Linked DNA regions of Homo sapiens: all the other regions are linked to region 1. The links are contacts of gene promoters, found by promoter capture Hi-C in blood cells and fetal thymus (Javierre and others, 2016). All regions are on one chromosome and are shown on one strand. The core of a region is centred on a gene start or on the middle of the fragment in contact, and the rest is flanking DNA. Distances in the headings are between cores, read along the strand shown. Region 1 holds the start of EDN1 (endothelin 1). Region 2 has its middle 25 kb from the start of ADTRP. Region 3 has its middle 49 kb from the start of ADTRP. Region 4 has its middle 86 kb from the start of HIVEP1. Region 5 has its middle 36 kb from the start of LINC02530. Region 6 has its middle 30 kb from the start of HIVEP1. Region 7 has its middle 16 kb from the start of LINC02530.

The links. The method cuts DNA at HindIII sites, captures the fragments that hold promoters and counts their contacts. A CHiCAGO score of 5 or more calls a contact.
Region 2: a contact is called between a fragment that was not itself captured here and the fragment with the promoter of EDN1 in region 1, in 1 of 17 cell types (M2 macrophages). The highest score is 5.2, in M2 macrophages.
Region 3: a contact is called between a fragment that was not itself captured here and the fragment with the promoter of EDN1 in region 1, in 1 of 17 cell types (total CD8 T cells). The highest score is 5.1, in total CD8 T cells.
Region 4: a contact is called between a fragment that was not itself captured here and the fragment with the promoter of EDN1 in region 1, in 1 of 17 cell types (neutrophils). The highest score is 5.2, in neutrophils.
Region 5: a fragment that was not itself captured here is called in contact with the fragment with the promoter of EDN1 in region 1 in 4 of 17 cell types (M1 macrophages, M0 macrophages, M2 macrophages and 1 more); the score reaches 8.3 in M1 macrophages.
Region 6: a contact is called between a fragment that was not itself captured here and the fragment with the promoter of EDN1 in region 1, in 1 of 17 cell types (neutrophils). The highest score is 5.1, in neutrophils.
Region 7: a fragment that was not itself captured here is called in contact with the fragment with the promoter of EDN1 in region 1 in 1 of 17 cell types (endothelial precursors); the score reaches 5.9 in endothelial precursors.

The regions. Positions count from the first base shown.
Region 1 is chr6:12,288,071-12,292,037 of GRCh38, forward strand. It overlaps EDN1 (endothelin 1), which reads left to right and starts at 2,291. Exons shown (of 5, transcript NM_001955.5): 1 at 2,291-2,623. The coding sequence starts at 2,560. RefSeq lists enhancers at 1-399, 400-900, 2,044-2,143, 2,154-2,223. The HindIII fragment of the contact is 4,555 bases long and covers 1-3,892 here.
Region 2 is chr6:11,801,942-11,805,908 of GRCh38, forward strand. No RefSeq gene overlaps it. Among named protein-coding and RNA genes, the nearest start is that of ADTRP, 25 kb to the left of the region's middle. The HindIII fragment of the contact is 946 bases long and covers 1,460-2,405 here.
Region 3 is chr6:11,825,427-11,829,393 of GRCh38, forward strand. No RefSeq gene overlaps it. Among named protein-coding and RNA genes, the nearest start is that of ADTRP, 49 kb to the left of the region's middle. The HindIII fragment of the contact is 3,411 bases long and covers 491-3,901 here.
Region 4 is chr6:11,924,670-11,928,636 of GRCh38, forward strand. No RefSeq gene overlaps it. Among named protein-coding and RNA genes, the nearest start is that of HIVEP1, 86 kb to the right of the region's middle. The HindIII fragment of the contact is 9,888 bases long and covers 1-3,967 here.
Region 5 is chr6:12,619,284-12,623,250 of GRCh38, forward strand. No RefSeq gene overlaps it. Among named protein-coding and RNA genes, the nearest start is that of LINC02530, 36 kb to the left of the region's middle. The HindIII fragment of the contact is 2,828 bases long and covers 600-3,427 here.
Region 6 is chr6:11,980,305-11,984,271 of GRCh38, forward strand. No RefSeq gene overlaps it. Among named protein-coding and RNA genes, the nearest start is that of HIVEP1, 30 kb to the right of the region's middle. The HindIII fragment of the contact is 4,383 bases long and covers 1-3,826 here.
Region 7 is chr6:12,567,584-12,571,550 of GRCh38, forward strand. No RefSeq gene overlaps it. Among named protein-coding and RNA genes, the nearest start is that of LINC02530, 16 kb to the right of the region's middle. The HindIII fragment of the contact is 663 bases long and covers 1,495-2,157 here.

The DNA of each region.
Region 1 (3,967 bases), core at 1,041-3,540:
CAAGGTGGGGTGGCGTGGAGTGGGGTGGGAGAAGGGACTCCAGCTGAAGTAGAACCCAGGCTGGACCTGAGAATATTGGGGAGGGCATGGGCGGTGGTTTCCGGGTAGGGGCCTTGAGAACATGTTGGTCCTGACTGTTGTCAGTGTTTGGTCAAAGTTGCCAAAAGGTTAAAAAAAAAAAAGTAGGGGGAGTCCCTGCCAAGACATATTTCCCAGGCCACCTTTCTTCCGCGGGAGTGTTGGGGGGGAGGCGCTGCTTGGAACCTGTGAATGTGACATCAGCTCTCCTCTCCTCTCCCAAGGTCGGCTTTGGAGAGGGAGGTCAGGGCACCCTTGCCTGGCACAGGCGGCAGCGCTGGCTTCCGGCTCAGTGCCGCCTGTCCTCCGGGAGCTGTGGCCTCCCTGGGCCCCGGGGCTAGGCTGAGGTAAGCGCACAGCGGAGGCCAGGGGCCCCGGCAGAGGCCCTGGGGATAGGGTGGAGGCATCTCTGGGTGTGGGTGTGGGTGTGGGTGTGGGAGGGAGAGTTCTTGCCTCTCTCTCTCCCATCTCCAACTCTTGCTTCAGTGGCTCTTTTAGAGGATGCATGTCATTATGGACCTGTCGCTGCCACTGTCCCTGTTCCCCCAGCTGTGACTTCGAGGGAGGTCTGGGGATCTGAGTCTGTCCAAACCCACGGCTTTGCTGTTGGGATAAAAACTGTCCTTTTGATTTTAGAAGGAGGAGGGAAAAAAGGTTTCCCAGCATGTGTGTTGTGCCAGTCTTGGAAATTCATCCGTGCTTGAATTCCACCCTCCATCCCCAGAAAAACTGGAGTAAAACAAAAAGAGGAGATGGACAAAGTGTGTATTTGATGGCATCCCCTGGGAAGAGACTCTAAATTTATCCCATAGGTCTTACTGGGCCACTGTGAGCGCTTTGGTGGAGAACAAACAAAAATTCTGGGTGCTCAGTTGTCTAACCTGAAAAATGGGACTAGCGGAAAAAGCCAATGTGTTCCATGCACCTTTTGCTTTCTTTATTAAGGCATGATGTCACCTGTACAGTAACTGCCCTGTGTGTACTTCAGGGGGGGATTTCAAGGTTAGATAGACAGGAAATTGTTTTGAAAATGTAAACACATTATTAAATGTGAAGTATTATCTGATTCCTTGTTCGAATGGCATTTCCTTCTCAGCACCACCTTCCTTGCATATTCACTTAACCTTGTACAAGAACACCTTTTTGCCCTAAATGAAGACACCCCCCCAAAAAAAAGAGTCCCAGAAAATATGTCCCTGCTTGTGCGGGGAATAAATAGAATATTCTGAGGTGCATTCCTCCTTCCTATGTTAGGCAACATTCCTTGACCCTCCTCGGCCCCCAAGCCAGGTTGCGTTTTTTTCTGCCATTTAGAAGGGTTTTCCTTTTTGTCCTAGTAAAACATCAGCCCCTGTAGCTCTTCATCTCCCCCTGGTGTTCTTCTCCCGCCATGTCTTAAGATTGGTGGCACCGACCAATCTTAAGATTTAAGTTCTGTGTGAAAAACACCTTTGCTTTTCAATCAGTTTATCAGCCTCCTCCGCAGGGGAAGTGTGGACACACAAAAGAACTTATCGGGGCTTCTCATCAGTGATAGGGAAAAGACTGGGCATGTGCCTAAACGAGCTCTGATGTTATTTTTAAGCTCCCTTTCTTGCCAATCCCTCACGGATCTTTCTCCGATAGATGCAAAGAACTTCAGCAAAAAAGACCCGCAGGAAGGGGCTTGAAGAGAAAAGTACGTTGATCTGCCAAAATAGTCTGACCCCCAGTAGTGGGGCAGTGACGAGGGAGAGCATTCCCTTGTTTGACTGAGACTAGAATCGGAGAGACATAAAAGGAAAATGAAGCGAGCAACAATTAAAAAAAATTCCCCGCACACAACAATACAATCTATTTAAACTGTGGCTCATACTTTTCATACCAATGGTATGACTTTTTTTCTGGAGTCCCCTCTTCTGATTCTTGAACTCCGGGGCTGGCAGCTTGCAAAGGGGAAGCGGACTCCAGCACTGCACGGGCAGGTTTAGCAAAGGTCTCTAATGGGTATTTTCTTTTTCTTAGCCCTGCCCCCGAATTGTCAGACGGCGGGCGTCTGCCTCTGAAGTTAGCAGTGATTTCCTTTCGGGCCTGGCCTTATCTCCGGCTGCACGTTGCCTGTTGGTGACTAATAACACAATAACATTGTCTGGGGCTGGAATAAAGTCGGAGCTGTTTACCCCCACTCTAATAGGGGTTCAATATAAAAAGCCGGCAGAGAGCTGTCCAAGTCAGACGCGCCTCTGCATCTGCGCCAGGCGAACGGGTCCTGCGCCTCCTGCAGTCCCAGCTCTCCACCGCCGCGTGCGCCTGCAGACGCTCCGCTCGCTGCCTTCTCTCCTGGCAGGCGCTGCCTTTTCTCCCCGTTAAAAGGGCACTTGGGCTGAAGGATCGCTTTGAGATCTGAGGAACCCGCAGCGCTTTGAGGGACCTGAAGCTGTTTTTCTTCGTTTTCCTTTGGGTTCAGTTTGAACGGGAGGTTTTTGATCCCTTTTTTTCAGAATGGATTATTTGCTCATGATTTTCTCTCTGCTGTTTGTGGCTTGCCAAGGAGCTCCAGAAACAGGTAGGCACGCTCGTTGACTTGTAAGTCTCGGAATTACAAGTTAGTGTGTTCTTATCCACCTTCATGCTTTTCTTGCTTCTATTTTTCCCCGTTCTTTTTATGACTGCAGCTTAGAGAGCAAGTGTCTGAGAATTATTGCTGAAAGCTACTTTAAGTCTTCTAGTGTAAAATGTAAAATTCCTCTATTGAATACAATTAGGTGCAATTGACTATAACATGACATTAAAATAACTTATCGTTTTATTATTATTATTCCATTATGTGTTTCCTTGGCTTTTAAAAAATGAGAAGAGTATGGACATATACAATTTAGTCAAATGTATGTTTGTAATATATGTGTTTATACAGGTACACAGGCCATATAGGAACTTAAATCTTATTTAAACACTATTTTAATAGTGTGTTAACGTGTAAAATATTTAAGCATTCCAGCTTGAAGCCAAGGAATTGTATCCAGTCGTTCAAGCAATGTATGTTCAGTAAAATCACCTGCAGAGCAAAAGTCTGTTGACTAACTACCGCCTCCCCCCCCCCCCGCCACCACCCCCCGCAGGCGGTTTCTGGGTGAAGCAGATGTTTTCTTTAAAATTTGTCATCATTGACTTTAGGTTTCTTTTGGCAGGTTTTTGGCACCCAAAACAGTGTGAGCTCTCTTTTCAGCTTTATTCACCTGTGCTGGGAGGGGAGCTAGGATAATTCTTGGCTGCCGAAGGATTTAGGCAGTGCGTGTGCATCTGCCCGGGTCCCCCCCGTTTTTAGGGTCAGTGCACTTTTTTTGTCTTTTCGTGACCCTGACTAAAGAGAAAGGATGTCAAGGGAATGAAAATCCTGGAATGTGTCTGATCATTTGAAATGTACAAAATTGGGCAGATAAGCTGCATGGCTAAATTGTTAGGAGGAAGAGGCAAGGCAGTAGTGGAGAAGGGGGAGGCAGTGGATCCCACACAAGCCTGATGCCCAGGGATTCGGAATTCAAAATCCCCCCAGCCTACCTTCAGTCCCCTGACCTGCTTCTCAGCCCCACCTTAGGTCACTGGTTTCTATGGAGTTACCCTCCTGAATTGAATATTGAATAGTTAATTTCTCTCTCCAATCATTTTCCCCACCTAATTTTGAAAGATATACATCATCTGGGGTACCCTGTGCCCTACACAGCATGTGAAGTGGATGGGTACCCCCTAAAGAGAGGGTCATCCTGAATGGGGAAGTGGCCCCAAAGCTAGGAATAACTGTGATTTCTTGTCTTTAGTCATGTGCCAATGTTAAGTAAGCTTCAGTGGATAGTGCTGTCCTACCAAGTTCCTTGTAGAAGCCAGCCGGATTTTCAACAGGCAGCATTCCACA
Region 2 (3,967 bases), core at 683-3,182, 490 kb before region 1:
GATTGGGTGACCACTGAAAAATCATAACTGTCTTGAATTCCTGATCCCAGCCAAGGGTGTGGTTAAGAACCACTAGAAGTTTCTTACTGGATATAATTATCCTGGTAAAAGCTTCTCTGCCTCATAGCTCATCTACCTGCCAACCAGAGAGCCCAAAATTCACCACCGAAGATGGATTCCTTCAGACTAAGCCTCATTTTCTATTAAAACACAGATATCTTCTAAGATTGGTCATGTATGACCATATATTAGCACCATATTGTAATTAACTTTTTTACCTTTCAAATCGATCTCCACTATCAAAGTCCTGAATACTTTTGACTATGCACCCTTATCAGTAAAAAATTTCGAGCTGTGTCCCCTATATTTATATATTTATTGGTAATTACTGACAATCCATACATTAATAAGGCATATTTATTTGAAGAAGAATCCCACTGTTACTTTTTATTTTGCTTCATTTTGCTGTTCTCATGGTTCATTTGACTTAGGTCAGCATCCACATTAAAGTATATATGTATGTCAATACTACTGGTTACCCAAACCAGAACGGCTCTGCAAGTAATGATGGCTTGGATGTCTTTGAGTCACTGAGGAGAGTTAAAAACCATTCCACTTTCAGCAGTCTAGCATTTGTTACTCGGATTTTTCTTTCACCTATTCTGTTGCTTCCCATTTAATCACATTTTTGAGCATTTCTTTTTCTTGTCATTGGGCTGTTGGAGGATGGTGGTAGAGACTACAGCCCAGTTGCTGAGATAAATATGAGCCTGAAGTCAAGGCCTTGGGTCCAGTTCCTTTACAAATCAATTTATTTGCAATCTTCTGGAAGTGGTTACCAAACATTATTGTGCAGAAGAATTACTTAGAGAACTTGTTAAAAAAAAAAACAGGATTCTTAGCCAGGTGCGGTGGCTCACACCTATAATCCCAGCACTTTGGAGACCGAGGCAGGAGGATCACTTGAGGATGGGAGTTTAAGACCAGCCTGAGCAATATAGTGAGATCCCATCTTTGCAAAAAAAAAAAAAAAAAATTAATTTTTAAAATTAGCCGAGCATGGTGGTACATACCTGGAGTCCCAGCTACTCAGAAGGCTGAGGTAAGATCACTTGAGCCCAGGAGCTTGAAACTGCAGTGAGCTGAGATAACACCACAGCACTCCAGCCTGGGTGAAAGAGCAAGACTCTGTCTCAACAATAACAACAACAAGAAAAAACACAAAATGAGATTTCTGATCCCTCCCCAAGAGATTCTGATTTAATAGGTCTGCGGAGGGGACAATAATCACCATTTGTAATAAGACCCCTCCCCCACAGCACCACCCACACAGGCCGTCTGGGGTCAGGCTGTGCTTATACCCCAGGAAATATTGGAGGCATGAGAATGGTGGTTGCCAAAGCAACCTTGGCATTGGGTGAAATAGTCCAGACTTTATTACATGGTGACCATGCTCAAAAGCTTGACCTTTGTCACAGAATTGGTAGGGATAGGGCAATGGAAGGAGGGTGTGTGGGTGCGGGAGTGGGTGTGTGCAAACATGAGGCCGGGTTTCTACCAAAGGTGCTAAACAGAATTGGTTTTCCTTTTGTCTCTCTCAAAGTGGAAGTTTGTTTTGAATGCACATATTTTAATAAATTAAATGACACTTTATAAATTACACCTTTTCAATCTTACACCTCCAAAGAATTATTTCTAAATTCGTGTCTTGTTAACAAATGTGCCATTTGTGCCCCCTCAAAAAAGAATGTTTTAAAATGGACATCTTGGTTCCTGGTTCACAATGAGATTTAGGTCAAGTGTGAATTATGATCACAAGGTAAACATATTACTGTGGCACCGAAAGAATGTAGGGATCACAAGACAGACTTCCAGGTGTACATTTTGCTACTTGCTACAGATGAGTTACTTAATTTGGGTTGTGGGGAGGAGTTGGATAATTTATTTACTAAAAAGCTCTTAAGACCCCAAATCTGTAAGCCTATTCCTCAGATCCTAAACATACCCAGATCTGTCTGTATCCCAGTGTGAACACACAATACACCTTCTCCTAAAAGTGAGACCCCAGATCTACTGATAGATAAAGTGAATGACAGTTATTGCTGAAGTAGAAATAAAATCATATTTCAAATACAGTTTCTTCATAAAGTCCTATGGCAATTTTTACCCTTTCTGCATTTTTCTTTGAGGCCTAACCTTGAGAAATCAATAAGCATAATTGGTTAGAAAATTGAATTTCTTTCTCTTTGCTTACAGGAATTAATTTGGCAAGCCATAGTTAATTTAGTGAGCATGTTTGCACTAACCATATTTTATATGTCTAACACATGGTATACAATTGTGCTCTGTGATCATTGTGAAATGATGCCTGCGGCCTGTGTTACGAAAGTTCAGAGCTGCAGCAAAGCTTTAGGGAGACTCACACGATGTGAGCGGGGGGCAGTTCTAGCTTCCTGATTCCGTGAAGGGCATACCCTCAAGTGTAAATCTATTATTTGCTGCCGGTTGAAATCTTGTTAGTCCTCAGGGAACAGTTTTCTGGAGATCATTCTAAATCAAATCCATGGGATTTCTAGCCCAGGATCCCTGAGATTTGTCAGTTTGGTTCAATAGGAAGACCTAACAGCTAGGACATTCCAAAAAATCATGATATAGATGGTTTACTTTCAGTGCCTTGACCTACTGTCATGGACCGCTCTGCCACTTCGCCCTGCTGTCTCCTTCCTTCTGGGGCTTCCATGTACCCCCAGGAAAACTCATTTTCCCCTTTCTTGTGTCTTGGGATGGTTTTCAGTGTTTGTCAGTGTGAAAGGAAAATAAATCTCAGGAGCCCACAATGAGTAAGCCAAAGGGAAGTCAAGCTGGGACCTTCCTCCCACTTCGTCCTAAATAAGATAGCTACAATGAGATAACTGCTTCATGATTCGCTAACAAGAAAATTCCTTGTGGACAAAGGACAGACGGACCTCAAAGTCATCCCTCTGCCCAAGTGAGACAAATGCATATCTGATGGCTTCCTTTGCCCTGTTGTTTCCAAACTAAGGCATAGTGATTATTCCTCTCTTCTCCTCTCACAGGTAAATTGTGTATTCAGTGAAAGGCTAATCAGAGACTCAAAAGAATGCAACCATTTGTCTTTTAGCTACCTATGCCCTGGAAGCCCCCTCCCCTGCTTCAACTTGTCCCGCCCTTCCGGACCAAACCGATGTACACCTTACACATATTGATTGATGTTTCATGTCTCCCCAAAATGTATAAAACCAGGCGTGGGTGCCCTGACTACCTTGGGAACATGTCAGGACCTCCTGAGGCTGTGTCAAGGGTGCATCCTTAAACTTGGCAAAATAAACTTTCTGAACGGATTGAGATCTGTCTCAGATACGTTTGGGTTCACACTAGGTGCCTGTGGGCTGATTTCATCCCTGGCAAGTGAAGAGGAGCTGTGGCGAGGGTAGCAGAGGGTTGTCAGGCTTTGCTGAGTGGCAGGGGGAGCAGCCAATAGTGTGGGGATATGGGGGCGGGGGAGGTGTCCTCTCCCCTCCTCCATGACTCCCTGCTGGATCACGCCACCAAAAGACTAGGCACCACCACATGTGTAAATACCTGAGATGCTGGGAAACCATGCAGGCTGGGCTGTGCTAAAACCCTTCGTTTTATTCTGTATCAGGGTAAAGATTGTAAAGAAAAAACTCCCTGATTGTAAAGAAAAAACTCAATTACAATTGGACCCCTAGGCTTCTAAAGGAAAATAGGTGAGAGAGAGAAAGGGGCGTTTTCTAAACTTCATGGCATTCAATGTTCCACAGCTGTGGAAGATTGCAAATGACCTCTGCCTGGGGCTGCCGCTGCTCATCTGGATAGGTGAGTCGGGCGTAGCCAGGCGTGGGTGTGTGCACCAAGGCAGCACAGGGCAGGACAAAGCCCGGCTTGCTCTCATCTGCGTCTCATTGGATTTGCATTATCTAGG
Region 3 (3,967 bases), core at 946-3,445, 460 kb before region 1:
AAAATCCGGGAAGGGTGTGAGGATGGAGGGGGAGTGAGGGATGAGAAATTGCTTAATGGATATAGTATACCTCACTCAAGTGATGGTGACACTAAAAACTCAGACTTCACTACAATATATCCATGGAACAAAGCTACACTTGTACCTCTTAAATTTATACAAATTTTTCAAAAAAAAATGAAAGGGGTAAAATTCAATCATTCATAAAGAATGGGTGTGTTAAGTGGCTACACCGGGAATCAAGTATAGTGCTAGTGAGTGGAGAGGCGGGGAAAATGGAGGATGGGAGGGTCCCAGATACAAGCTCCTCAACCTCATCAATGTCATGATTGTGCCTGGACCAGCCCTGTTCATTACAATCAGAATCCCTCCTGTGCGTCTTGGACATAAGCCTTAGCTAGCTGGCCAACCTCAGAACAGACCCTGCCCATGTTTGTCCCAAGGCAGCCTAACTCCATTTTTTATTTAGATATGCAATTCTGGCCATTCAAGCTTCTTTCACCAGGAACTATTTAATTATATGCATTCCATGTTCGTCCTGAGGTAAATTAGCCTAAGTGATTATTGTATCAAACCCTCCAACTAAATTGTGCTCAAGGACATCTAACCTCTTAAATGTTATATAAATGAACATAACTGGACTTACATAATTTTTAAATAATGCATGATATTTGTACCTATTTGGGGGGGTACATGTGACTTTTTTATATACGTATACAATGTGTAACGATCAAATCACAGTATTTAAGATTTCCATCACCTCAAACATTATCATTTATTTGTGTTGGTAACAATTTCAAATCTTCTCTTCTAGCTATTTTGAAATCTACAATAAATTATTGTTAACTACAGCCACCCTATTATGCTATGGAACACTGAAACTTATTCTTTTATCTAAATATATATATATATATATATATATACATTTTTAATCTATTAACCAAACTCTCTTCATCCCCCTAAAACACACCCTTGCCAGCCTCTGGTAACTATCATTCTAATTTCTACCTCCATGAGATCAACTTCTAGAGCTCCCACATGTGAGTGAGAATATTGGATATTTGTCTTTCTGTGCCGGGTTTATTTCACTTAACATAATGACCTCTGGTTCTACCCATGTTGCTGCAAATGACAGGATTTCATTCTTTTTTTGTGGCTGAATGGTACTCCATTGTGTATATTTACCACATTTTCTTTATCCACTCATCTGTCTGTGGACACTTAGGTTGATTCTGTATCTTGGCTATTGTGAATAGCGCTTTAGTAAATATCCAAATTCTGCCAGGCTCATACCTGTAATCCCAGCACTTTGGGGGCTGAGGCAGGAGGATTGCTTGAGGCCAGGACCAGAGCAACATAGATAATGATAATGCTTGAGATCAGCCAGGGCAACGTAGACAGATTCCATCTCTACAAAAAACAAAAAAAATAGCCAGTTGTAGTGACATGCCTCTGTGGCCCCAGCTACTCAGGAGGCTGACAAGGGAGGATCACTTGAGCCCAGGAGTTCAAGGCTGCAGTGAGCTGTGATCGCACCACTGAACGCCAGCCTGGGCGACACAGTGAGACCCGTCTAACAAAAGAAAGAAAGAAACAAGGTGTAGGTATCCCTTTGATGTACTGATTTCCTTTCCTTTCGATAAATACCCAGTGGTGGGATTGCAGGATCCTGTGGTAGTTCTGTAGCACCCCCGGGTGGATATGGGGTATGTCAGTGGTACTCCAGGCATGTGGGGTGCGGGGGTGGTTAGGCCCCAAGGCAGGGTGTAATCTGGCGGGGGATGGGCTCCCCAAATGCCACTGCACTGCCACTGCTTGGGTCCCAGGGGTGTGTAGGACCCAGTGTGAACCCATCTTTGGAACAATGCCTACTGCAGATGGCTGTCTGTACTAGTCTCAGAGCCCCCAAAGGCCAAGGGGCTCTTCTGCGCCTAGGAATGTAGGAGTCCGCTGTGCTTGTGTGGACCACTGGGGCCTCTCACTTACCTTCTCCCCCAGCCAATCCTGGCTGCCTGGCTGCTTTGCTGCCCTCTCCTTCCCTGCCCCCAGGGTCCCTTGTCACTTTCCTGCTGAATTCTAGTGTGGTCTCCGACAGGCTCTATTCAACGTGCGTTTTTCTACTCGCGGTTTTGGTTCTTTGTGGAGGAGGCCAGTGCTGGGCGCCTCTTGTCGGGCATCTTGAAGCCTCGTCCGCGCTGATGTATTTATATTCTTTCCATGGCTCTAACTCAAAATAGTTCCAGGAGATATTGGTTGATTTCTTGGATTTTTTGTTTCTTTCTTTTTGTCTAACAAGTTTAATTTTACTTAAGAACAAAACGGGCCAGGATCCGTGGCTCATGCCTGTCATCCCAGCTTTTTGGGAGGCCAAGGCAGGAAGATCACTTGAGTCTAGGAATTCAAGACCAGTCCGGGCAACACAGCAAGACCCCATCTCTATAAAAAAATAAAAAGTAAAAGAAGGTAAAACAAAAACCAAAAAAAAAAACTCCACAAAACTTAGAAATCTCCCTCTCCTTAGGTGACAGAGTTCCCTTGTGTTAGCTTCACCCAGTATGTGTGAGGGAACCTCGCCCCACCTTATCTAAAGCCTTAGGATAGGGACAAATGGGATTTCCAGATATGTGCCCAAATCAGTGCAAAGGGAAAACCTCTAACCAGTAAGAATGATGGGGATACAGATACCTTATGTGACTTTTCTTTGAAGAAAAAGGTAAAAGGAACAGTTTCACCTATTTCAAGTGCAGTTAAATGTGATCCAGGAAAATGAAGGTGATTCCTGTGCTAGAATGATTTGTCCCTCCCATCTCTGTCCCTTTTCCCACAAATACCTATGTATGTTTTCTGTATATGGGGCTACCACTGAATTTAAAAGGCACTTAGAGAAGTGAAGACTTCCACAAAAGAGGAAATGAAAGAGGGATAAAAATGAACTTCTGATTTCAGCTGAACTCACCCAGATGGCAAAGAGAAAAAAAAAAGGTGACAATTTTGACCTCAGAAAGCAGTATAATAGTAAGAAAAGTCAACTTGAGCTCAACTCCAATTTCCTATTTGACGGCTAAATAAATGTTAAATGACTTTGTAAATATTTTTAAATGAGTGGTTTTGGAGTGGGAGTGGTGAAGAAAAAAGGGAAAAGAGGTTAACTACCACACATAAAACAACCAGTTCATGCAGCCTATGGCCAATTTTTACAGCTGGATTCTTATAAACTGCTTGAAGAATTGGGCGAGAGACGGGTTTATGATGTTACCATGGCAGTCCTGCAGTTTTTTGACAAAATATTGTGACACTAAAGCAGATGTACTGTGGGAGGTAGACATAGTGGTTGCGACAAGTATGAAGGAATTTAAGACCCTCACTAAATATTTCAGCGAAGAATGTCTCACCGAACTGCCACAGGATTTAATTAGCTGTGGAGTAAGAGGTGAAGGGTTAATCCAAGGTCAATGTGGAGGACAAGGAAGCCCCTGACACATGCAGCTATTTGATATTTGCTGAATGCCACATTGCAGTCAATTGGAATAGTAAATTAGCCTAGCAGGAGAAAGAATAGGAACTTAGTTTCTTTAAATCAATTGGATATGATGGTGTTCAATTATTTAATTTCCATATGCGTTTCTCTGAGCTTCTTTCTGTCAATCCAGTAATTTCTTCTGAAGTGTTAAAAGTGCCTGCCAAGCAAGGAAGACGTATACTCCAGCTTTCAAAGTGAGAAACAATTTGATTGAGCTCAATTAAGAACAATTGAATTGTATTTAATAGTGTTTGGTGTCTATATTTGCCTCTTTATACTACTTCAAATGTTTTGTTTTGTTTTGTTTTTCTCATTCACGGAGGAGGGGGGGAGAAAAAGCTGTCGGGCTGACATTTTTTCCTACCCACAGAATTCAGAGCAAGCTTGTTTGCTTGAATAGAACAAACTCCGAAACCCTGTCTAGAATAAAGGAAAATTTCTCAGGCA
Region 4 (3,967 bases), core at 504-3,003, 360 kb before region 1:
ACAGAGGCTCAGCTGAGTGTGATAGCATTTATATAAAATTTAAAGCGACAAAAACAGTATTGAGGGGGCACACAAGGACTTGCAGTTAAAGTGTTACAAATGTACAATGGGCCGGGTGCGGTGGCTCACGCCTGTAATCCCAGCACTGTGAAAGGCCGAGGCAGGCAGATCACAAAGTCAAGAGATTGAGACCATCCTGGCCAACATGGTAAAGCCCTGTCTCTACTAAAAATACAAAAATTAGCTGGGCGTGGCGGCGCACGCCTGTAGTCCCAGCTACTCGGGAACCTGAGGCAGGAGAATCACTTGAACCCAGGAGGCAGAGGTTGCAGTGAGCCGAGATCGTGCCACTGAACTCCAGCCTGGTGACCTGGCGACGGAGACTCTGTCTAAAAAAATAAAAATAAAAAAATACAAAGGAAATAAAAATATAAAATTAAAGGATGGTGGTTATTCCTGGGGAGGAGAGGGGGGACATGGAATCAGGTATATAGGGTATGTTGCCTGTGTCTCTAATATATAATTTCTTTTTTATAAAATAATACCTCAAAGGCAGTGGTCAGAGGGAAAAAAACTGAGATGTTCTCCTTACCATGAATGAATGTATGAATAATGAATGAATTAAAAAATAAATACAGATGAAAGCAGATGCTATTGATAAGAGACATGTAACTTCATTTCATATGCTTGATACAACACAGATAAAGATGAAGACTGCTAACCTTGCTAAAAATGATGATTCTTTATTCACTAGATTTAACCTGATGGACTGCTTTCAGTTGTGATGGAGACAACGAAAAAGAATGACAGGCTTGGAAGTATATCATCAAGCATTATATCTAAAAGGAAAGTAATATTATTAAGGATTTTTTAAGAATTTAATTTTTTGGCATGATATTTCTCTATTAATATAGAAGCCTGTGGTTTGATTTTATCATGTCTGATTTTCAGGCATGTTTTCAGGTAACCTTTACGTCAGGAAGATGCTACCTGCCAGCTCCCAAGAGTTATTTTATCACACATCTTAATAAATACAACAGAATGATGATCACACTCCCCTCCCCCGCCCCCAGCGCTATTTCTCCTCCTTTTTCCCTGCCTTGTCCTCTCACACTGCAGGTGCTCACCCAGGCATGCAAACTAGAATCTCCAGGCTGGGGCCCTACCCACCCTTCACCTGCCCCTGGGCTGCCAACCACAGTCTTCTTGCTGATATTTGCCCCGTGTAACGTCCACTGCTTCCACTGCTGCCTCCTTCAGGCACCAGCAGCACTGAATTGCTGACAGTAAAAGCCCCACTAGGCTGCCCACTAAGCCGTCATCCCGTGGCGCTGCACCCACTGCTTCTCCCCAGCTCCTCTGCATAGGTCTGCCCTTCACTCCCACGCAGAACACGTGGCTCACGAGATGTTCTGATGTGTTGACCCTCTTGTGCCTCTTGCTCTGTCACACTGTACTGTGTCATCTGTCCCTCCTCTCTACTGGACCTGCACTCCCTGAGGACAGGAACAACGTCCAAGGGCATCTTTGTCTCATGTATAATGCATTGCATGAAATCCAACTGGGCGCTGTGGTTCACGCTTGTAATTGCAGCACTTTGGGAGGCCAAGGCGGGCAGATCACTTGAGGTCAGGAGTTCAAGACCAGCCTGGCCAACATGGTGAAACCCCCATCTCTACTAAAAATACAAAACTTAGCCAGGTGTGGTGGTGCATGCCTGTAATCCCAGCTACTCGGGAGGCTGAGGCAGGAGAATTGCTTGAACCCAGGAGGCTGAGGTTGCAGTGAGCAGAGATAGTGCCAGTGTACTCTAGCCTGGGCAACAGAATGAGACTCTGTCAAAAAAAGAAAGAAAGAAAAGGAAGGAAGGAAGAGAAGAGAAGAGAAAAAAGAGCAAGAGAAAGACAGAGAAAGAGAGAGAGGGAGGCTGAGGCAGGAGAATTGCTTGAACCCAGGAGGCTGAGGTTGCAGTGAGCTGAGATAGTGCCACTGCACTCCAGCCTGGGCAACAGAATGAGACTGTCAAAAAAAGAAGAAAGAAAGAGAGAAAGAGAGGGAGAGAGAAAGAGGAAGGAAGAGAGAAACAGAGAGAAAGAGAGAGAAAGAAAAAGAAGGAAGGAAGGGGAAAAAAGAAAGGAAAGAACGAAAAAGAGAAAAAAAGAAAGAAAGAGAAAGGAAGGAAGGAAGGAAAGAAGGGAAGGAAAAAAAAGAGAAAGAAAAAGAAAGAAAGAAGAAAGAAAGAAAGAGAAATGCATAGTGGGTGCTCAATAAACTGAACTGGGAAGTGACTGATAATCCAGACTCAGTGCAAACTACTGAATTTTTTTAAAATGTTGTGCTACTGGCAAAATCCTTTAGTGATCAGATGCCCAGCCTGGTTCTAACTACATCCTCATTTTCTGTTGTCATTTTGACTCCCCATCATCTTCTGAAATCCCCTCTTTTTTCTCTCTCTTATCTACTGTCTACATTCATTTGAACTGAAATACTCATTTCCATGTATCTGGGCTGATAAAATAATTGCAGAGATTTTTCATGCAATTAACTCACAGAGTAGACTCTAAGTACGCTGTTGGATTTTCTATAGCACCACATACTGCTAAGTCTAATTTGCAACCATACAAATCCATGACATGTTGGAATTTAAGGAGGTTCATTAGCCTACAATATTTACTCTGCAAAAATGTTTGCTGGAATTGAAAAAGTAACCTCCCTCACTTCACAGAAATCACTGACTCCCTTTCTGTTGCTTCAGGGCAACCGCCAGATAAACTCCCCAACTTGCAATGTAAAAATCTGGAATGGTGGTTGCTTAGTCTTTTCTACACATTTACAAGGGGCTACAATGAGGCAGAGAGTAAATCACACATAGATGGAAGCTGTATGTCCCACACTGGAGCTTATATCGGTCACCATCTTCTTGCTGGGTCTTTCCCAAGAAATCTCTTTGGAAATGGGAAGTTATGTCTGGAATTCAGGTGGCAGAAGGCCACCTGTGTGCCTACTGTTTGGAAGTCAAGGATGGAGGAGGGTGCAGGAAAGCATATTGCATTGGCACCACCAAAATGATGCACTCTAACCTGAGGCCACACACACCACACACACACATGCTTCTACAGGATGTATGCCAATCCACTAGCCGCGTCGCCCACGCTCATTCGCAGGTCCTGAAAGCTAGCCCACCGTGAGGCCAGGAGGAGGTGTTTTAGAAGAGAATAAAAAACTAGGATCAGGCACTGATACGGGATGAAAAAGACGAACAGAGACTAATGATGAAATAGAATAAGGGCAGAGGAGAAGTGTGTTGAGTGTGTGGGCAGAAGCACTAGGAAGGGCAGGATTGTAGAGGCACATATGGTGTACAGGGGTCCTGACACAGCCGTGGCAAGGAGATGCTCAGAGCTTCTGTGGCCAGGACACGATCGTTGCCTAAAGAGAACAGCTGCGAGGGACATTGTTGACGGAGAGGGACAGAGCGGTCCTGCAGCTCTTTGGGATAGGGAAGTAATTCCTTCACTGGGGCAGTTCTTTGTACCTATGGGAAGTTCCGAGGTCAGTATTCTTGTTTAAGAATATATTGAGGTTATTGAGATTCCATATTATTACGGAAATAATAGTTGTGACATTTAGTACTTCTGTTAAAATAATAATCAAGTCTACATATAATAATATTTAAAAAGGTTTTATATGTACAAGTAAATTTTTTTAATCAAAGGAATTTTCTTCAAATTGGACTTTAAAATAAAAATGGAGAAATATGGGCATTAACTGCAAAGATATGAAGGACTAAAATTTCAAAATCTAAAAAAAAATCTTAATTTCACTTAATATTCTAGAATACACACATTCTGATCAGTTTCTGTCTACAAGAAAGTGGAATAGCTCTTGTTTTTTGTTTTTTTTTTAAATGGCGTGAGCCCGGGAGGCGGAGCTTGCAGCCAGCCGAGATCGAGCCACTGCACCCCAG
Region 5 (3,967 bases), core at 764-3,263, 330 kb after region 1:
GAGATCACACCACTGCACTCCAGCCAGGGTGGCATAGTGAGACTCTGTCTCAAATATATATATATATATGCGACTTTCCTTTGGCCACTGGCTAATAAAATCATGAGGAAATATAAATTAATACCAAACCAGGAATCTAGGGCAGGATGGTTTTTCTTTCCCTAAATAACATTAACTAGGGAGAGAGTTGACATTTCTCAAATAAATCTAAATGGACTGGATTTTGATTGCTAAAGGAAAACCTTTAATGTTGATCACATTAATTGGATTTCAGAATTTTTTAAAGCCTTTTATTACTCTATTCATTTTATGATTTTTTATGTCATTTGCATTGATTTTTACCTCCTAACATGTAAAAAAAAATGCCAGATATTCACTGTTATTTCTAGTTTTTTCTTCAGTAGGTACAACAGACTACTTAAGTTCTGTGTGTGTGTGTTCACAAATACAAAAGATAAATTGCAAAGGACATTTAAAAATTTTTAACATTTTCTCATGAAAGCATAAGAACTTTCTTGAATAGAGTACCCTTTTAGAAATAGTACTACATCTTTAACTGTTTTCATAAAGTATTCCTTTTCTTCTTGGTAATTAGTAAAAGCTTTTCCTTAGATTATAAAAAGGTAGGTTTGCAACTCCAATTTCTCTTTGCATTTCTTAGAAAGTATAAAAGAGTCTACCTAATAAGCCTATGTTCTCTTTTTATGAATAGACATTGATGTAAGGATGGAGAATACACTTTTTCCTTCTTTCTGGTGCAACCTTTAATTATTCCTAAAGTCAACTGAGGGTTATTTTTATTTGTTATTGGATCTTCAGGTTTTTTTTTTTAAACTGGATGTATGTCCATTTCCTTGACCTAATTGACATATTGCTTTTGGATTTAGGCTTAAATTTTAACTAGAACTAACTCTGAGTCACTATATTACACCAAATTCTCAGAATGCACAGGTTGCAGGCTGACCTTCAAGTGAGGGCCCCAACTCCCTTATGTACAAGAAGGCAGAGGTAAAGCCCCTTGCTCAAGGTCACATGTTCGGTTAGTACCAGAACTGAGAGGATACCCTGTGCCCTGGTCTTCCTACAGACTCCTATTCAATGCTCTTTCCACTACGTTGAAGATTCTCCCACCATTTCTTCTGATAAGTAAATGTATATGAGGAGTATATATTTTTTATATTTAAAAATAGGCTCCTCTAGTTCTAGGTGAGAAAGTAAAGATGAATCCACAACAAACTTCTACACAAATGTTTATAGCAGCACTATTCATAAAAGCCAAAAAGTGGAAACAGCCCAAATGTTCATCCACTGATGGATGGATAAACAGCATGTGCTATGCATATACAATGGAATATTATTCAGCAGGAAAAAGGAACGAAGTACTGATACATGCTACCACATGGATGAATGTTGAAAACATTGTGCTAAGTGAAAGAAGCCAGGCACACAAGTCCATAGATTGTATGATTTCATTTATATGAGATGTCCAGAATAGGTAACTCTAAGAGGCAGAAAGTAGATTCATAGATGCCTTTGGCTGGGGGAAATGGGCAGGGTGGAGGGAGGAGGTGCTGGGGAAGTGAAAACTAAAGGGTGTGTGATTTCCTTTTGGGCTGAGGAAAATGTTTTATAACTGATCGTGGCAATAGATTCACATGCTATAAATATACTAAAAGCCATTGAATTGTACACCGTGTGTGAACTTAATGGCATACTACCTATATCTCAATAAAACTGTTAAAATATGCCTTTGTTGGTGTTCATTGTAAAGAAAATTTAGAGTTACATCATCAATTACTATGATGAGATGAAATAACTACCAGTAGTCTAGATAAATGGCCAAAAAAATAGCAAGGTGGCTCAGAAGTGGAATAAACTGAATCTATTTTTCTTTATTTCCTGCTCTTTACCTTATTTACTAGATCATTGTTGTAGACTCTGCTAGGAAATAATCTGAATGTCAGTTTAACACTGTGATAGGCTCACTCCATCTGCAAACATTATGGACCACCTACTTGATGATGAAAATTGCACTGGCCACTAGAGATAGAATGACATACCAAAATGTAAAATTCACTCAGGGAGTTAATTGCAAAAATTTCCAGTTTTTTAGAAGACAATTGTATTAGTCCGTTTTCAAACTGCTATAAAGAAATATCTGACACTGGGTAATTTATAAAGGAAAGAAGTTTAATTGACTCACAGTTCCAGATGGCTTTGGAAGCCTCAGGAAACTTACAATCATGGCAGAAGTCAAAGGGGTTCCATGTGTTCTCATTGTTCAATTCCCACCTATAAGTGAGAACATGCGGTGTTTGGTTTTTGTCCTTGTGATAGTTTGCTGAGAATGATGGACACAGGAAGGGGAACATCACACACTGGGGCCTGTTGTCGGGGGGAGTGGGGAGGGATAGCATTAGGAGATATACCTAATGTTAAATGACGAGTTACTGGGTGCAGCACACCAACATGGCACATGTATACATATGTAACTAACCTGCACGTTGTGCACATGTACCCTAAAACTTAAAGTATAATAATAAAAAAAAAGAAGTCAAAGGGGGAAGCAATCAACTTCTTCACAAGGCAGCAAGAGAGAGAAGAGAAAAGGAGGAACTTCCGAACACTTATGAAACCATCAGATCTCATGAGAACTCACTCACTATCAGGAGAAAAGCATGGGGGAAAACACCCCATGACCCAATCACCTGCTTCCCTCGACACGTAGGGACTGCAGGTCCCTCCTTTGACACATGGGGATTATAAGAGATGAGATTTGGCTGGGGACACTGAGCCAAACAATATCAAAAATGAAGGAGATAACATTTGTTGAACACATTCTATGTCCCAGACACTGCGCCAGGTATTGTGCATAGATTTTAAGTTGTAACAATAGTCAATTGAAAAACCTTTTATCACACTGCAGTTAATATTAGTTGGCTACAAGAAAATTGAAATCATTAAATGGTTCAGTTAACTTTCATGTATTTCATATATAAACTCAGTCACTTCTTTTTCATTACTGTAATTCAAGAACCTCCTCCACTAACAATGATCAAAATATAGTAGATGTGATAAACATTTGTTGAACTCTCAAAGGCAATTAATGATTTAGCAATATAATTGCCTTGTGACTGTGTAGTTCATTAAAATCCAAAGTGCCACCAAATAGTTGTCTTATTGATTCTTTTAATCTCCAGCTCAAGAAAGCAGAAAAAGAAAGCGATTTGCAAAGGCAGCATATAGAGAGTACTGAGTGTCGTTTGTGAGCCTGATTAAGCCCAGTGCAAGGTTCTGGGCTATCATGGATATTGTGGTCTGATGATTTTTCCACTGATTTGCAAGACTAACCACTGCTTTCTGCTTTATTTCACCTGGCTTCCAAGACTCCCTCAGGCACAGGAGTTGCTTTATTCTTTTGTACTCAAGCTTGAAAAGTGAGTTTCTCTTTATTACATATGCTTTTGGTATACAGCATCTGAAGGCAGAAGCTTAGCTAGGGACAACATTTGCCCCTGGTGCAGTCAGGTGGATGATACCAACCCTTCTAAGTGTGACCTTTCTTCTGAGAACAAAGTGCTTTCCAAATATTATCTGACTGAGCTCAGAACCCCAGCAGAGAGGCTTGGAGAAAGAGACTAGTATTAAATTATTTCACACCTGGGAGAATCAAATAAAAAGAAACTTTCCAACGGAAATGTGAGAAAATTTTAACCTCTTAATTACTAGAGGCAAACTGTCCAAGAAATAATTTGAGGATGAATTTGCCTCCTGCATATGGACAATGGCTAACACAGCCCACAGTGCTTGGGTGTATTCTGCTTAAATGGTAGCCATCCAATACACCCAGATTCAGGCATTGCAAACAGCCCTTTGCTCAAAGGAAACTGCCTGACAGTGCCTTAAACCTGGTGGGCTCTTGATAAAGGAGTGTTAAATTGATTTTGGAAAATGTGATAGTGATTCT
Region 6 (3,967 bases), core at 385-2,884, 310 kb before region 1:
GCTTGAAATCCTCCTAGGATTTTTGTTTTGTTTCATTGTTCTATCTATTCCAGTACCATTGTTTTAATTGGTTATATTTTGATAATATATTTTGAAAACCATTAGTGCAAATGTCTTCTCATTCTTAGTTTTCAAAAATTTAATTATTGCAGTATGTTTATTTTTCTAGTTGAAATTTGAAATCACTGTTACATGTTTTTTAAAAAAAAACTCATTAAAATTCTGACAACTTATAATTAATTTAGCAGAACTGACATCTTAACAATACTAAGTCTTATCTGCAGCGTCGTTTTTTTGTAGTTGTCTATGTCCCTCGGAAAATGTTAATACTGTCTAATGGATTTTAGGCATTCCTAATTAAGTATATGTCTAGGCAGTTGATATTAGTTGTTAGAAAACTGTTTTAAAATTAACGTCTGTATGATTTGTAAATGGCCATTTTACTGAACTTGCCTATTTAAAGAAATCAGCTGCAAACATTGATACTTCTTTATTTGTGTATTTTGAAACTTATTTAGCTTTTCCCATGATATTGGCCAAGATTCACAAAATAGTGTAACTGTTTACACCAAGTATTTATGATTTCCAATGGAATACCTCTGAGAGAGAAACAGAGAGGTCCATTTTGATATGTATGTATTTATCGATGTATATATGAAATGTTGAAGGAATATTCTTTCTAGTTTCCTTAAATACTCTGTCAAACATGGTTGTTAAACTAAATTAGGTGCTTTTGGAAGATATCTATTGATACTGTCTTTTTAAAAATCATTTGTATCTATTACATTAATAGATTTCTTTATACTTCTTGATTCCAAGAATAAACTCTAGTACGGGGATAATTTATTGCTCTTTTAATACGTCTGGGTTGGTGATTTTATTTAGGATTTTTTAATTCTCTATAATCATAAGTGAAATTTAGCTATAGTTTTCTTTCATTGTGATAATTTTATCAGGTTTTGGTATGAGGTTAAAATAAACTGGGAAGATTTCCATCTTTATTCTCTGGGACATTTTAAATTGCAAAAGAAATCTATAATTTCAGAGTCTAAAATAACATCCATAAAATCATCTGGTTTTGGCAAATTTGAAGGGATAATTATCATCTTTTTCAATTTTATTCATGGTGGATCTTCTACATTTTGAGCCAATTTTGGTTATTTATATATTCCAGGCAGACAATCTATTTCATCAAGATATTCTCACTCAGTTGCATAAAGTTTTATGGAGAAGTAGCTCCCAATGTTTTGTTCTTGCCTCCTATCAGTTAAAAATGCTTGAGTAGGCACCCCAATTTACTTATTTAATAATTGCATGTATTTACTACTAGACTAGTGGATTACATAAAGTATAAAACACTCTTGTAAATAGAAGAATTTTAAAGATAAGATAAAGATGAAATAAACTATTTAAAAATAATTTATATTTAGTTCAATCATGAAATAAAAAACTTGTTGCTTCTCTAAAATAGTCTTAATATTAATATTTTAGTAAGAATTATGTCATTAAATAGGTTTTATTTTTTTTAAATCTTGGTTTAATAATTTGTGACATAGTGATCAAAGATATTTTTCTAAATTCAATTTATTTTGGTATTCGTTTTAAAAAGTTACCCTAGCTCTAAAGATACCTCACAAATACACATAGGTCCAAATTGGAAAAAGTAAGTGCATCATTGTCAGTCTTACTAAGTCATCATGTGCATTCTTTTCAGTCCCATTTACTAATCATGTAGATAATGGTTGAAATATTAAAAAATATTTGCTTTTCCTGATGTCAGTCAGAAGCTGTTGAATTTTTAAATTTTTAACAAATGAGTTTAAATACCACTGGGACTGTACACAGGTTACAAAGCAGGTTATATATTTTGTGGTCCTGTTTTTAGAGTAGGCAGATTTAAGAAATTTTGTAAGTGACAAACATCGTTTTCAGCAACAAAAATCACATAATGATGGGAACATTTCCAATTATTCTCAAAATGCTGTCTCCATTGCAGAAGTTTGTTTAAAAAGCCAATTATTTTCTATTCCCTTGTAAAAGCATATCACTTTTACCTTTGAGTGGCAGTTTGTGCTAATATTTTTTCAGTGTTGGCTGGGTTGATACAACTGACAGCCATTTACCTTCACAGAAATGATCAGTTAATTTGGGACACTTGTCTGTCTATAAAGGACATATACATAACTCACCAATAGCTTAAATCAGTAAACAAATTAAAATAGCTTAAAATTTTTCTTCAAATTTAAATCCCAGACATCCTGCAAGAGGAAATGAAATTCTATGTATTCTTCATTGATTTTTTTAGATGGCCATCTCATAACTGTTATCAAAAAATTACAAGTTTGCAAAGATGTAATTTGTGGAATATGGTAACCACAGACATTAAAAAAATAAAACTTAAATCCCATCATACTCAGTGACATTCCAATACCATAGCAATTTGACACCCACACTGTCCATTCTTAAAAATATATGTATCAGATTTTATCTAACAATGGGAAATTGTACTTTATCCCTTTTTCTTCCCGGACTTTTATTCCTATTCCACTTCAAGCCCCCATTCCCAAGAATGTATTTAGTATATATTTATTTTTGAAACTCTGTTAATCATCAATATTTTCTATGATAAAAATATGCATATAAATTGAAAGATTAATTTTTTAATTACCTGTGAACACAAGGCTCTAAGTGTTAATTGCCTTTCAGAGAGAGCTATCATTGCGACTGTTAGTAGTACATAATTAGTCAAAACAACGTAACTACATTATAGATTTTCACAGATAATCATCAAACAACAATTTTTAAATTATCAAAAAGAAAGCTCTTAATGAGATTAATGGGGTCAGGTTATTTTCATTTGCCCCTAGATAAATATTGTTCATGATTTGAGTGAGACGGGGCTCACATCAATTCTGTTCATATATTTTATGTTTCTAGATGTACGCCCTGAGAAACCTTGTTCATATAAATAGACAGAAATGGAAATTCTGTTGCTGCTCAATGTGTTTACCCACTTCTGGGTTATTTGCTGAGAAGTTACCAACTGATGAAATTAGTTCTAATAATCTATCTTTTGACAATTCTAATTCATTCTTCAATTGTGACAAAAGAAAAGAATTAATGTGCTCCCCAGTGGTTAGAGTTTGTTCACTTAGGCTTCCTTGAGATTTATCAAAGGATTATTATATGAGTCAGCCTTTTCCGTGTAACCAACCAACAAAATCTCAGTGGCATGTAAGAAAAAAAGCAGTTATTTTTCTCCCTAGCAAGTATGCAGGTGAACTGGGGCAAACCTGGGTTCGGCTGCAAGTCAGTGCCAGCCTGTTCCGTGTGTCTCATTCTGGGGTCCAGGATGAAGTCGCAGTGGCTCCCTGAGGCATACACTCCTTGTGTCGGGGTCAAAACACACAGTACATCTTAAAGCCTACACTTCTTAGAATGAGCACATGGTCACTGGCCAAAGAAAGTCAGAGAGCATGCCCAGCATCAATGGGCCGATGAATATTCTTACCATGGATGTGTGAGATGGGGGAGTGAATGTTTGCGGAATAATCTAATATAACATACCCATTAGCTATTATTCTTGTTGTATATATTGTTTTGCTTTGAATCTAGTTTTCACTTAGCAATAACTTGTTCAAATCAATATATGAAAAAGAATTGGCAGATTAAGAAGAGATATGAGAAAGGTTTTTGAGATGCTAGTAGTGTTTCTTTATGTTTTTACCTGTGTGGTGGATATGCACGTGAGTTCACCGAGTGATAATTCAGTGAACTGTACATTCATAACCTATGGACTCTTTCTGTATGTTATACTCCAAATAAAAGCTTATTCTTAAAAAGGAGTTGAGAAAATCAAATTACTTTTTATATCAAAAATTTTCTAATGGAATATATTTATAATGATCCCTTTTATCTTATTAAATGCTTTAAATATGTATTTTTATGTATTTACAACTAATAATGG
Region 7 (3,967 bases), core at 576-3,075, 280 kb after region 1:
CCTTCTTTCTCAGTTCTGCTACTGTTCACTTCCAGCAGCACCACCCTGTCTTACATTCCAAAATTATAGAACATAGGTACACCAGCTCATTGATTGTTATCCATGCCAAGTTACAGTCCCTCTCCACTATTCATAAATTAACTGAAGTCTTGAACTTGGAAACAGAATGATGCCCCATTGGCCTAGTGCTCGAGAAGGAGTCCTGAGTGGCTAACACCGTAACCTGAGCTACATGTGTTTGCTAACCCTGCAAGATGTTATCTCTGGGCCAGGCACATGAAGCCAGAGGAAGAACTAACTCTTGGCTGTATTGCTGGATTTTTCCACCAAAGAATTATTGCAGGAAGACAGGTCACAAAGTCAAGGCATATATTACCAAGCAGGGAATACCATCTGAGGCAAAAACAAATACCAGCAGGAAAAAAGGAAAGCCTGACCCACTCTCCCTCACACGTCTCACCTCAAAGATGTTAGTAGTTGGAAGCTGTTTCAATAATGATAGTCAAACTTGATGACAATGCTCTCAAAAACCATCCATGCAATCCTGTTATTTTACATCTCCTTGGTCAGGCAGCCGATGAAGAAAGGAAGGTCATTGCCATGGGGAAGGATGTGACTGAATGTCGTCCTGCAGACCTAATACTTTCCTCATTTACACGTGGCTCAGATCAGCTTTCTAAGGTTTTTGTGCTCTAAATTGTCAAGGGACCTGCTGTTAAATATAAAATAGTGATCTCTGACACTGGTGTGCACATATCAACATTTAAAGAAAGGATGCTTTTTAAACATGAATGAAATAGCAAATAATGTGCTAAAAACTGGAAACTGACATATCAAGACGAACTAGAAATACACTCCCCTATAGAAGAAGACATTGAGGAAATTTGCCTGTCTTGAATTTGGCATTGGATAAACGGGAGAAAACATCTTCCTGAAGAATTTATAATTGCATTCCGGCACGTATGTGGGTTTGGTACCCAATTTTGCACTTCCACTTTGGTACAAAGAAAACTGAATTCAATCCAAGGCCTTGGGAAATAAGTCTTGACCCCTCTAGGTCCTTCTTCTCTTCAATGATCAAAGCCTAAATCTTATAATAAATTATCTAATTATTCATCTTCACATTGCACTTTCTTATAGATTGTAAATACCTCCGGAAATCAATAACACATGAAGATATTATTAGCCAGGTATCTACTGTGACTCCATTTATAACTATTAATATAGCTAAAGCAGTGAATTCTTCTGAGTCTCAGAATTCATCAGTTCCCAAAGACTGAACCATGTTAAGGAATGGAAGGTAATTGGAACTGACATTTTGAATCAGGTGTCTATTAAAATGATTTCTTATTTAATTTAATAAAATTCCTAACGTGCAGGTTATAATTATTGTTACCATTGCCAACTGAAGCATAGCAATGAAGTAACTCACCTAAAGTCAGAATAAGTAAATCCAAACTACATTTCTAGTCCACTATATACATTGCCTCGCTAAGCTTCTTTCTACACATTCTATTGTTATGGCAGAATTTAAAAATCAGAACTTGTTTGCTGCCCTATAGTTAATAATATGTCCTCTATTATATATTATAATACATATTGTAGTAACTACACTTTACTGTATTTAATCTTCTCCCCAGTGAAAGGAAATTTGATGTAATAATTTATCCTCATTTATAGATTAATGTCTCAACGTGAATAAAACATCTGAAAGAGTCCAGGCGCGGTGGTGTATGCCTGTAATCCCAGCACTTTGGGAGGCCGAGGCAGGCAGATCACCTGAGGTCAGGAGTTCAAGACCAGCGTGGCCAACGTGGTGAAACCCTGTCTCTACTAAAACTACAAACATTAGCTGGGTATGGTGTGCCTGTAATCCCAGCTACTCAGGAGGCTGAGGCAGAAGAATTGCTTGAACTCAGGAGACGGAGGTTGCAGTAAGCAGAGATCCCGCCATTGCACTCCAGCCTGGGTGACAAAAGCGAAACTCTGTCTGAAAAAAAAAAAAAAAAAAAAAAGCATCTGAAAGTAATTGTGACTGGCTCTTGAAGGAAAAGAGAGCAATTGCTCATCATTCCTGTATATCTTAGAGGGTCTACTGGGTTCTGCGGCCTCTGCATGTATCAGTGAGCAAGGCAGGTGAGAAAATTGCTCTTAAGAAGCTTACATTTTAATGGGGAAAGACATTAACTAAACAAATAAAAAGATTAATAATAGCATTTAAGAAAATGGTAATGGCTACAAAGAAATAGAATGTGAGTACTCAAAAGAATGATTCAACATCAAAAACATGTCATTACATGAGACACTGAAAAAAATCAATGCTTAGGAGACAGAGCTGAAATCTTTACATTAGAAAGTTTTTAAAGCTAAAATTTAAATAGCAACCAAATTAGGAAGTTAAAAAAGAACAGCAAGGAAGAAAGGAGAAGAATGAAATGATAAAGCTGAATTTGAAATTACTAAAATAGAAGGCAAAAATGAATTAGAGAAATTATCAGAGCCATTATTATTCTGTATAAATGCTAATAAAATTGACAGCATCATGGCAGAATGGATCAAGACAAAAAGACACATTTTTAAAAAACTATGTTATCAAAATTGACTCCAGAAAACTTTTAATAGAAAACTAGCCTTTTATGACAGTAAATCATTAATTTAAAATCATAAAAAGAAAGAAAAAACCCTAGGCACATCAGTGTAGCTAATGTAAATCAGTCTAATTTACAAAGAAAAGGATTTGGTGTAGGGTATTCATCTTTATAAAATCTCTGCTAGGGTTGAAGAGCAGACTCAAGGCCAGCAGTTGGCAAACATTTTCTGTAAAGGAAAAAAATCATAAATTTTTCAGGCTTTATGGGTCACATACAACCTCTGTCACATATTATTCTGCTTTTGTTTGTTTTTATTTTTGTTTTTGATTTTTAACAACCCCTTAAAAATATAAAAACCATTTTTAATTCAAGGGTTATATAAAACATGCCATGAATCAGTGCTGCAAGCTGCAGTTTGCCAAGTCCTGCTCTAGGCTGAACATTCTGGAAGGATTCCCAGAAATTAATTAAAGGAGCTTTCAAAGGAGTAAGTACACCAGGAAAGAGGAAGATGTGGGATCCAGGTAACAGGCAATCTAACACATGAGAGAAATGAAAGAAATTCCCTAGTGGAAGAGAAGAAATGCTTGCTCCAAGAGGATATTGTGTAGCAGGCCTGGAGGGCAATCAACTCGTGTGAGAGCAGGAGGAGGAAGGTTCTGGAATATTGACTTCAGGAAAAAGATGAAACTGATAGGTTTAACTGATGTATTTAACTACATGAAAGGGAGTTTTACTGATTATTGGTGAGTTAAAGGATGAATTTGTGTTAGCTGCATAGAAAACCAAGCAAACTAAAAATCAGAGCAATAATTGACTACAGGAAAAATGATCAGCTATACAAAAAGGGAAACGAAATCATAGTATCCTACATGATTCAATTATTAATAATTAGGGTAGGAATGAAGAAGCATGTAAGAATGTTAAGCACTCATTTTCTGAGCAAAATGTCAATAAATAATTAACAACTTTAAAATTGAGAAATGCTGGGCGCGGAGGCTTATGCCTGTAATTCCAGCATTTTGGGAGGCCAAGGTGGGAGAATCACTTAAGGCCAGGAGTTAGAGACTAGGCTGGGCAACATAGTGAGAACTATCTCTACAAAAAATTAAACAAAATTAGCCTAGGGTGGTGGCATGTGCCTGTAATCCCAGCTACTCGAGTGACTGAGGTGGGAGGATCACTTGAGCCCAGGAGGTCAAGGTTGCAGTGAAATGAGATTACACCACTGGACCCCAGCCTGGGCAACAGAGGGAGATCCTTATAATAAAATAAAATATAAAAAATAAAATAAAAATAAATAAGAATAAAATTAAATATAAATACAATTCAAGAAATTATCATATAAGCACATAATTATTTAAAACATGGTACTA